Regions from separate parts of the Homo sapiens genome. Here region 1 is linked to region 2. The links are contacts of gene promoters, found by promoter capture Hi-C in blood cells and fetal thymus (Javierre and others, 2016). All regions are on one chromosome and are shown on one strand. Each heading gives the region's core, a stretch centred on a gene start or on the middle of the fragment in contact. The rest is flanking DNA. Distances are from core to core; before and after follow the strand shown.

Region 1 (4,249 bases), core at 648-3,147, 150 kb before region 2:
GCTCATTAAAAGAGGATTAGGCTGAGAGCCAGGGGGCCAGCCCAGTCCCCAGGCCTTCCTCTGGGGCTCCTCACAGCTTTGGGGGAGTGATAAAAGGGCCGGGGCCACCCCTTCCTGGATCCTGTGGGGGTATCCGGTAGGGACCACCTGGGCCCTGCCATGCCTCTTGCCGCCACTGCTACTATAGCCTTGGCTACCTCAGTTTCCCTCCTCAGAAGGTCAGGAGGTCTGTCTTTCCGGTGGGTGAAACACTGACAAAGACCCAGGCTGGTGCCTCCCCTTGTCCCCCAGTCCCATCTCTCTTCAGCTCAGGGATTAGGGCTGCACTGGCTCACTAGAGGTCAGAGGTCTGAGCTAGGCTGCAGGGATCTGTCTATCATCCCCAGTCCCCATCACTGCTGGGGGAGGTGACGCTGTCAGTCAGGGCCTGCTGCTTTGTGGGGCTATAACCAAGGGGGCGGGCTGCCCACCTCTGCTCCAAGACTCCTCTTTTTGCGGCAGCCCACACCTCACTGCACGCAGACCTGATGTCCTGGAGACCAGCAGCAAGGGGTAGGGGCTGCCCACTTGGGGTCTTCGGGTGAGGGCTGTGGACACGCCTCCTCAGTGCCTGTCCTCACCTGCCCGCACCTTTAAAGTAAGGTATCACCAGCTGCTTCCCAGATATGAGGGACCGGGGGCCCCCAGGACCCAGCCCCGTGTGCCTTGAGAAGGTCCTGCCTCTGGACCTGTGCCAGGCCGCTTTGGGCTGGGACCCCAAGTGCTTGATGGCCATGAGAGAGTCCTGGAGGCCAGGAATGGCTGCGGAAATGAGGTGTCTGATGCCAGAAAAGGCTCTTCCTTCCCGATGATGGGAAAATCCTTCCCGGATGTCACCCCTCCCAACCTGTGCCCAGCCTGGGTGAGAGTATGGGGGTGGGGAGCCCTTCCCAGGAGACAGCACCCAGGCACACCACCCTTCCTCCCCCTAAGGTCAAAGCTTATCTGGGCTGGAGTCCTGATCCCCACAGAACCCTTGATTGTGCCCAGCCCCTCCCTCAACATTGCCATGGCATTCGAGGAGGCATGGCGCTCCTGCTGCCAGAGCCGGGCGTGGGACAAGTGGAGCAGATGTGGGGATTGGCCTTAGGACATGACCAGGCTGGGTCTGCATCAGCCCTGGCCCCCACTGATGCCACCTCAGGTCCCAGGTTCCTTTGTTCCTTCTGTCCCAAGTCCCTGTCCCTTAAGGGAGCTGGGGCCTGGTAGGATCTGGCACCTGCTGATGGCAGGTTTTGGAGGAGGATACCCAGGGCTACTTGCCCACCCCCTGCTCTGACTCAGGCTGCTTGGAGGAGTGAAGGCTCCCAGTTCCTTTGCCTCATGGTGGAGTGGGGAGCAGGGGACAGGACACCCTGTGACCTGGGTTGAGTACCACTCTCCTTTGGGCCTCAGTCTTCCTGTCTGCAGCTGGGGGTGCAGGGCTGTCACAGGGCTCCTTGTTTCCCTTTTCACCTACAGTCTGGCATGAGTGGGGTCAGAAGTCCAGCTGTGGGTTGAGAAGGCTGGAACCTTACACCTTCTTTGCTCTGGGACCCGGGGAAGTTCCCACCCCTCTCCACCTTGGTTCCCCTCTGGTAGGCTGGGTTTGGATGAATGGTTTGGGATTTAGCTCTATTCCTGTGGGTTGGGGATGGGGTAAGGACACACTGGAGTTGGGAAGGCTGGAGCTGAGTCCACAGGTTGCCTCTTCCTGCCTTATAGCCCTCTCTGCTCCCCAATCTAGCACTAGGAAATGGAGTAGCTGGGGTGGGAATGGGGATGGATGCCCTACAAGAGATAGCGACACGTGGAAGCCTGCTTCCTTGGGGAAGGACTTGGGACCTCATTCCACTCTCCTTTCCCTGAAAGGCAGAGACACCCATGAAGGATGGGTTGGGGGAAGACCTGAGGAATGCCAGGCCGTGAGCCTCTCTCTGAGATCAGAACGGGGTCACTGATCCTCAGGGTCACTTTGAATATCAGTACCAGGAGGGCCTGAGAGATGGTCTAGACTAGAGAATGAGGCTCAGAGAGCGAGAGTGCCCCCAACTCAGGTCATGAAGCTCACCCAGAAACTCAAGCCATAGCCAAGGATCCCTGATCCTGGGTCCCACCCCTTCCCCACCATGCGCGACCTCCTGGGGCTCCCCCTCCCCCCACACTGTTTCCACAGTGACCAAAGCGTCACGTCCTGTGACACCAGAGCCATTGACGCCATATCCCGTGGCCACTGGGAGGGGTCCCGCAGGTCCTGAGTCATGTGCCCTGTCCACGGGGAGCGAGTCACCTTCCGGCCCTGGCCCTCCTGGCAGGCAGTCTCTACCACCAGGACTGGCTTCCCCTGGGCCTCCCCCTCCTTCAGCCATGGACCTAGGTGGGAATCCCACCCCCATGCACTCTGGCATGTCACATCCCTTCCCTGTGCCCTGTGCCCTTGGTATTGTGAGCACAGGGCTTTGTGCACAGCGGGTGTTCGATAACTGAGCAAGGGGCTCCCTCCACCCCCACCTCCACCCAGGGGCAGACTGGGGGCAGCAGGCAGAGAGGGTCGAGGCCAATCCTCTGCCCCTAAGCTGGGACTCAGTTTCCTCATCCTCTGAGTGTTCTCTACGGCCTTTCTCACAGAGGGAGCTGGAGTTTGGGAGTGCTGGGGCTTTGCAAGAGGGTAGGGGACTCGGACTTGGGCCTCGGGCTCTGGGAGTCTTGGTGCAGGGTTGATATTATAGAGGCCCAAGGCTGCGCAGGGTTGGAGCTTGGGGATTATGGCTGATTGGGTTCCTGGGGGCTTAATGGCTGAAGCTTCCCCTTACCCGGAGTGCCCGTGTCTGAAGGCGCCCACTTAAGCCTCTAGCCCCTCCCCCTGCCATTGCCCCCAAAGTGCCCCCTAGCCCAGGGGATGGGTAAGGGCATGACCGAGCCATGCCCCCAGCCAGGGTATAAATAACCCCTGGCGGGCTGTCCCAGCCTGGGGGGGCTCCACTGGCAGCCCCACTTCCTCTCTGGCCACTTCCCAGCCCTGGGGGTGGGGGAATGTTTACTTTCCTGTTGTCACTGTGGGTGAGCAGCCAGGCGGGTGAGCGGCCAGGCGGGGGACTCCGAGTGGCCCAACAACAGGTGCGGGACAGGTGCCTGGGCCGCCCTGCCCAGGACTTCAGAGGCGCCGCTGGACAGGCGGGTGAGGCCATCGCCAGGCAGGATCGGCCCTTTGATCCCTCGGCGTCCCTGCGTCCCAGCGGTTGGCCAAGGTCATCACCTGCATTCCCTTGTCACCGCATAGTCAGGGCCAGGCAGGGCAAGACCTTTCCTTACCCACTAGTTTCTCAGAGTGAGGTCCTGGGACCAGACATGGGCTCTGGGTCAGCTGGTGGAACCCCCTGACCCCAGCCCACCTCTGCCCCACCTTCAGGCTGTGTCTAGGGCCTCGGATCCCAGCTGTTCTCCCCCTCCAGGTGCCTTGGGGCCTGGCCCAGGCCTCTCCCTTGACTGCCCCACCTGTGAAATGGGTTACCAGCTGGGGAGGGGAGATGAGACATGTGTGACCCCCTTGGTGAGTGCCTCATGTGTGGTAGGACATGTGTGCGCCATGTGCATGCCTGTGCCACGTGTATACATGCATGCACTCTTCTGTGTGCTGCTATCTTAAGCCCCCTGTGTGTGTGAATATTCATCATCCTCATTACAGTGTTCCCTCTTTTGCTGAGCTAAAGATAGCTGGGGGTGGGTGGAGAGGGGGCTTGCCAAGGGGACCCCTCGGCTCTCCCTCCCCTTGGAGGCAGGTTCCCAAGCTTCTAGGAGTCCTTTGTCTGTCATTGTCTGAGCCCCCTCCTGTCCTTCATCCTTAGGAAGGACTTTTCCCCAGCATCCTGGAGTTGGAGGGGCCAAGGCTGCTGGACTCATGCAAAAGGGAAACTAGAGGACCCAGTTGAACCCTGCCTTTAGCCCCAGGGTTGTAGCTCCAGGGAGAGAGCCTCTTTCCCAGAAATGACTGTCCTGGCTCATTCAAGGTGGCCTGAGAGTTCCACCATTAGCAGCCTTATAGGGTCTGGGGGAAGCTGGGGTCCGTAGGGCAGTGTGTCCAGCAGGGCTTTCTGGTCTCCTGGCTAACCTGCTTCAGACCAAGTGAGGACCTTGCTGTGCACCAGCTGTGCCCTCTGCCTGGTGGGCAGCCAGGGTAAGAACAGGGCATCCAGGCTCCATGCCAGAGTCTGCCGGCTGTCCCAGATATACC
Region 2 (3,958 bases), core at 1-2,500:
GGCCCTTTAAGACTCCAGTGCGGAGGTGGGCCCGGGATTGGACTTGCGGACGGGGCGGGAAGGTGTGGTCCACCTTTCTCGGTGCCGGTGCCTCGTTTCGGGCTCGAAGAGCCCCAGGTCCTCTGCAGAGGGACGTGGCCGCCCATTTAGGACCCTAATGCCCCTCTGAGCCGGGCTTTCTATGGGAGTCTCAGCCACGAGCGCCAGTCAGCCTGAAATGTTTCCCCTGCAGCCCGAGGCCGGTGGTTCAGTCCTCCCAGCTCCGCGGCGCCGCCAGCCCTTTAAAGAGACAGTGTGAGGGACAAGGCAGGGGGACGGGAAGGGGGGGGGGGGGAATAGGAGGAGGCGTTGCCCCGTTCGGCCATCAGGAGGTGCTGTGGTACTCCGAGGTTGGCAGGGGGCAGCACCAGATCTGGCTCTGCACCCCCTAACGTAGACGCCAGCCGTGGGTCCCCTTTGTGTGGAAAAAGGGACTTTGACCTGAGGCGACCTCTGGTCTCCTGGAGAGTAGTGCCCCGCCTCCCACGAATCAGGGGCCCCCTTCTCTGGTCCGCCGTCTAAAGGGAGGCCCCGCCCCCTGCCAGACTGAGGGAAGGGGCCAAGCACCGCTTCTTAGCCGGCCCAGGAAGGGCCGAGGCAGTCGTTATCCTGGCAGCCCGGCTCTGGGTCGCGGCGTGGCCGCAGGGTTGGGGTCAGGGAAGCTCAGAGGGGTCTAGGAGGTTGGCCGCCCCTCTCCCTGACTCGCATCAGGGCGGGACAGTCATCCCTGAGATCCCGTCCTTTTCTGCCCAGTCTCTGAGGTCCTTTGGGAGCCCGGCTCCCTCTCAACCCCGAGGAGGCCTCCATTCCTTGCAGCAGTTTCTGGCTGGACCTCCGAGAAAGCCAGCAAGAGGGGTCTCCCAGGGCCTCCATCCCGTATCCAGCGCCCCCTACGCTCCACAGGCCTCTCCCGGTGGGGGGCAGGCTTAGACCCTGGCGAGCCCCGTGCGAAACCACCTCGGCTCTTCCTAGGTCCGCTCCCTTGTGCGAGACTCAACTCCCAAAAGGGCCCGCGTCTGCACCACCAGCCCCTAACCCTCCCGGGCGCCAGGAGAGGGAGGGAGTGCAACTGCGAGCGCATCTGTGGGGGTGCAGACCAGCCGTCTGCTCTGGGCTCACCTGTGTGGGAGTCCGTCGGCCCAGTAGGTCGGTGGCCTCCCTCCTTCCTGGGGTGAGCCTCTCCAGCTAGGCTACTTGCGCCAGCTGCTGCCCGTTGGGCAGCTCGCCGAGGACTTGATAAACCCCATTCCCTCCCATCCGCTCCCGCCTCCCATCCCAGCCCTTTCTCCTCACTTCCTGCTGCCCCCTGAGAGGAAAGGGCCAGGAACAGGCGTGGGGGAGGAGATCGCCTTGACCCTGTTTCCCTCCAGAATGCCCTGCTGGCTGGCTGCCCTCCCCACCCTTCCCGAGTAGGATCTGGCCCCGCCAGCTGCGCCAGGTGACAGGAAGGCTATGGGCTCAGGATCAGGTGCCAATCTCCCCCACACCCACAGCTTCCAACACTAGGGAACCTCTTCACTCCTTCCCTAGGATTGGGGCCCATCCTCAAATCCAGTAGGGTGTGAGAGGATGGGGTCAGGTGGTGGTGCTTTTGGGAGTCAAAATACTTGGGGGTCGTTCAGCTGATGGTCCCCCAGAGCAGGTGCCCAAGAAGGGAACTAGCCTTGGGGGGAGGGTCGGGGGGACTTCCAGTAGCTGAGTCCGTTTTTTTCCACTGAGAGCTTCCGCATCCTGTGTGACAGGACAATGTGTTAGTGAGTGTGACTGTGTGGGTTGGGGAGGAGGGGATGGACTGGGAGGGTTCTGCAGAGTGCTTTCCTGCTGGAGTTCATTCCTGGATGGATTTCAGAGTCCACTATACAGAGTAGGGGGCTCCTTACAACATGGATGAGGAAAGGGGTATACTCCTCTGGGAGGGGTGTTCCTGTGGCTGGCCCTAGGGAGGACTGCAGCAAGGTTCCAGCAGACCTCTCCAGGGGTGCAAATCTACCTACCCTCAAATCACCCAGAGCCAACCCCTCAACAACCCAATGGCCCAATGCCCAGGAGCCTCTCCCCCAACAGAAGGCTGTGTGAGGGGTAGGTGAATACCCAGGAGTCTGGCCCTGAGGACCAAGGAGTCCAAGACATGGTAGGGGAAGGTGCAGTGTCCCTGTACCACTGTGCTGGCTTCACAGGGGCCAGAAGCCTTGAAAGCTCCATGGGTGGGGACCCCCGGGGAAACAAAGGCTAGGCCAGACTGTCCCAGGGCAGGGACACTTCCTCAGGCAGCCAGCAGGAAGGAAGTGAGCACAGCCCGGCGGGAGAGAGTGGGGAAGTGTTGCCTGACCCCCATTGTTTCCAGCGATGGGGTCAGCTGGGTAGGCCCAGCACAGGGAGTTCCCTCAGGCTGGGACAGTGGTGGTAGGAGACAGGATGCTATCTGGCATGGGAGAGCCCTGGGCCTTGAACAGCCAGTAGAGGGGGACCATGGAGGATGACAGGGCCTCATGTTTGGCATCTTATGGGGGTATGGGGAGGCACCCCACAGAACTGCAAGTCCAGGCTGGATATGGTGATCCTGCCCTAGCCTTGACAAGTTCAAACCTCCGAAAGACTGGCAGACCAGCTCCCTACACTCAGAAGCCTGTCCCTGAAATCTCCCCTCTTTAACTGGGAGTTGGACTGATAGTCAAAGCCTAAGCCTAGTAGAGAATCTGCCTTATAGCAGCCCCTGAGAAGTGCAGGCAGAATGACCACAGTGGGCAGGCTGCAGGTGATGAGAAGATGGGGGCAACAGACAGCAGGGGCAATACTAGTGGGCCGAGCCTTGCTTGCTGAAACAGCAGCCTGAGCTCATTCTCCCATGGTGTCCGCAGGCAGGCCTCAGAGGAGGCACATGAGTTTGGGTTGCTGAGCCTGGCAGTAGGCCAAAGGCGTGGGGACACCTATCTGGCTGCTGTCCATTAAAGCTGGGCCTTTGAGGTCCATGGGGGTCAGGCCATGACCCCACTTAGGATCAGCTGGCGATGCTACAGCTAAGACAGATATTCCAGAACTATCTTGGGTCACACTCTCTCACCTTAGATCAGGCAGGTGGGGCCAATCCTTAGTGAAGTATCCCAGGGCCTTCTGATTCCAAGGGTCACCACCACATGGATCACAACAGATAAATGAGTGCCCTCCCACCCTGCAGGGGGCCTGCAGTGAGGTCTGTGTGAACACACAGCCACCTGCTGGCCACAGTTGGGATGGCCACAGGCTGGGCTCAGACTTACTCTTGGGCTTTGCTGGTCATAGGGGGCCTGCCAGAGTCCTGTGCCAGGCCTACCTATTGAACCCAGGTGGTAGTCTAGACACTGGGTGTCAGAGCCCCCACAGGATGCCACTCTCATGTGCAGGATCTACAAATCATTTTATTGAAATTGAACAAATAACACAACAGTCTTCCTAAGCTAGGGGCCATCCTCCCCAAGCCATTTCCCACATTATAGAAGCACAGAGCTTGCACAGTACTTAAAAAAAAAGTCACCTCTATATAGAAATCAGACTCTGCCACGACATCATCATGGACTATTTACAAACCTTCACATTATAAGTATTCCTTTTATGGTTTTTCCCTCCTTTCTTTCCCTACCCAGGGGTTCTAGTGCTTTCCCTTGACTGATCCTGAAGGGGTGGGGGTTACTGTAAGGGAGGGGGTGGTAGGCTACTCATAACTACTGGCACCAGCCTTAGGGTGTTGTCCCTTACCACAAGGTGGTGAACAGTCCCCTCCCAATTGGAGGGGTGGAGGATTTGGTGCAAAGCCATGGAGATTAGACAGAATAGGTGGGTTGGAGTAACTCCCCATAGGCACAAGCATCCGCAGCCTGTCCTGACCCCAGCCTGCACTCTCTCAACTCCTCAACTGGGGGTTCGGGGTTGGGGGGCAACAGTT

The links. The method cuts DNA at HindIII sites, captures the fragments that hold promoters and counts their contacts. A CHiCAGO score of 5 or more calls a contact.
Region 1: a fragment that was not itself captured here is called in contact with the fragment with the promoter of HYAL2 in region 2 in 1 of 17 cell types (endothelial precursors); the score reaches 6.5 in endothelial precursors.

Annotation. Positions count from the first base shown.
Region 1 is chr3:50,168,626-50,172,874 of GRCh38, forward strand. The region is part of intron 2 of SEMA3F (semaphorin 3F); the gene reads left to right. Among named protein-coding and RNA genes, the nearest start is that of SEMA3F-AS1, 15 kb to the left of the region's middle. RefSeq lists a silencer at 1,113-1,323 and an enhancer at 1,739-2,712. The HindIII fragment of the contact is 1,841 bases long and covers 978-2,818 here.
Region 2 is chr3:50,321,495-50,325,452 of GRCh38, forward strand. It overlaps HYAL2 (hyaluronidase 2), which reads right to left and starts at 1,251. Exons shown (of 4, transcript NM_003773.5): 1 at 1,159-1,251. It overlaps TUSC2 (tumor suppressor 2, mitochondrial calcium regulator), which reads right to left. Exons shown (of 3, transcript NM_007275.3): 3 at 3,415-3,958. RefSeq lists enhancers at 15-354, 988-1,661, 2,444-2,945 and a silencer at 3,154-3,343. The HindIII fragment of the contact is 6,890 bases long and covers 1-3,958 here.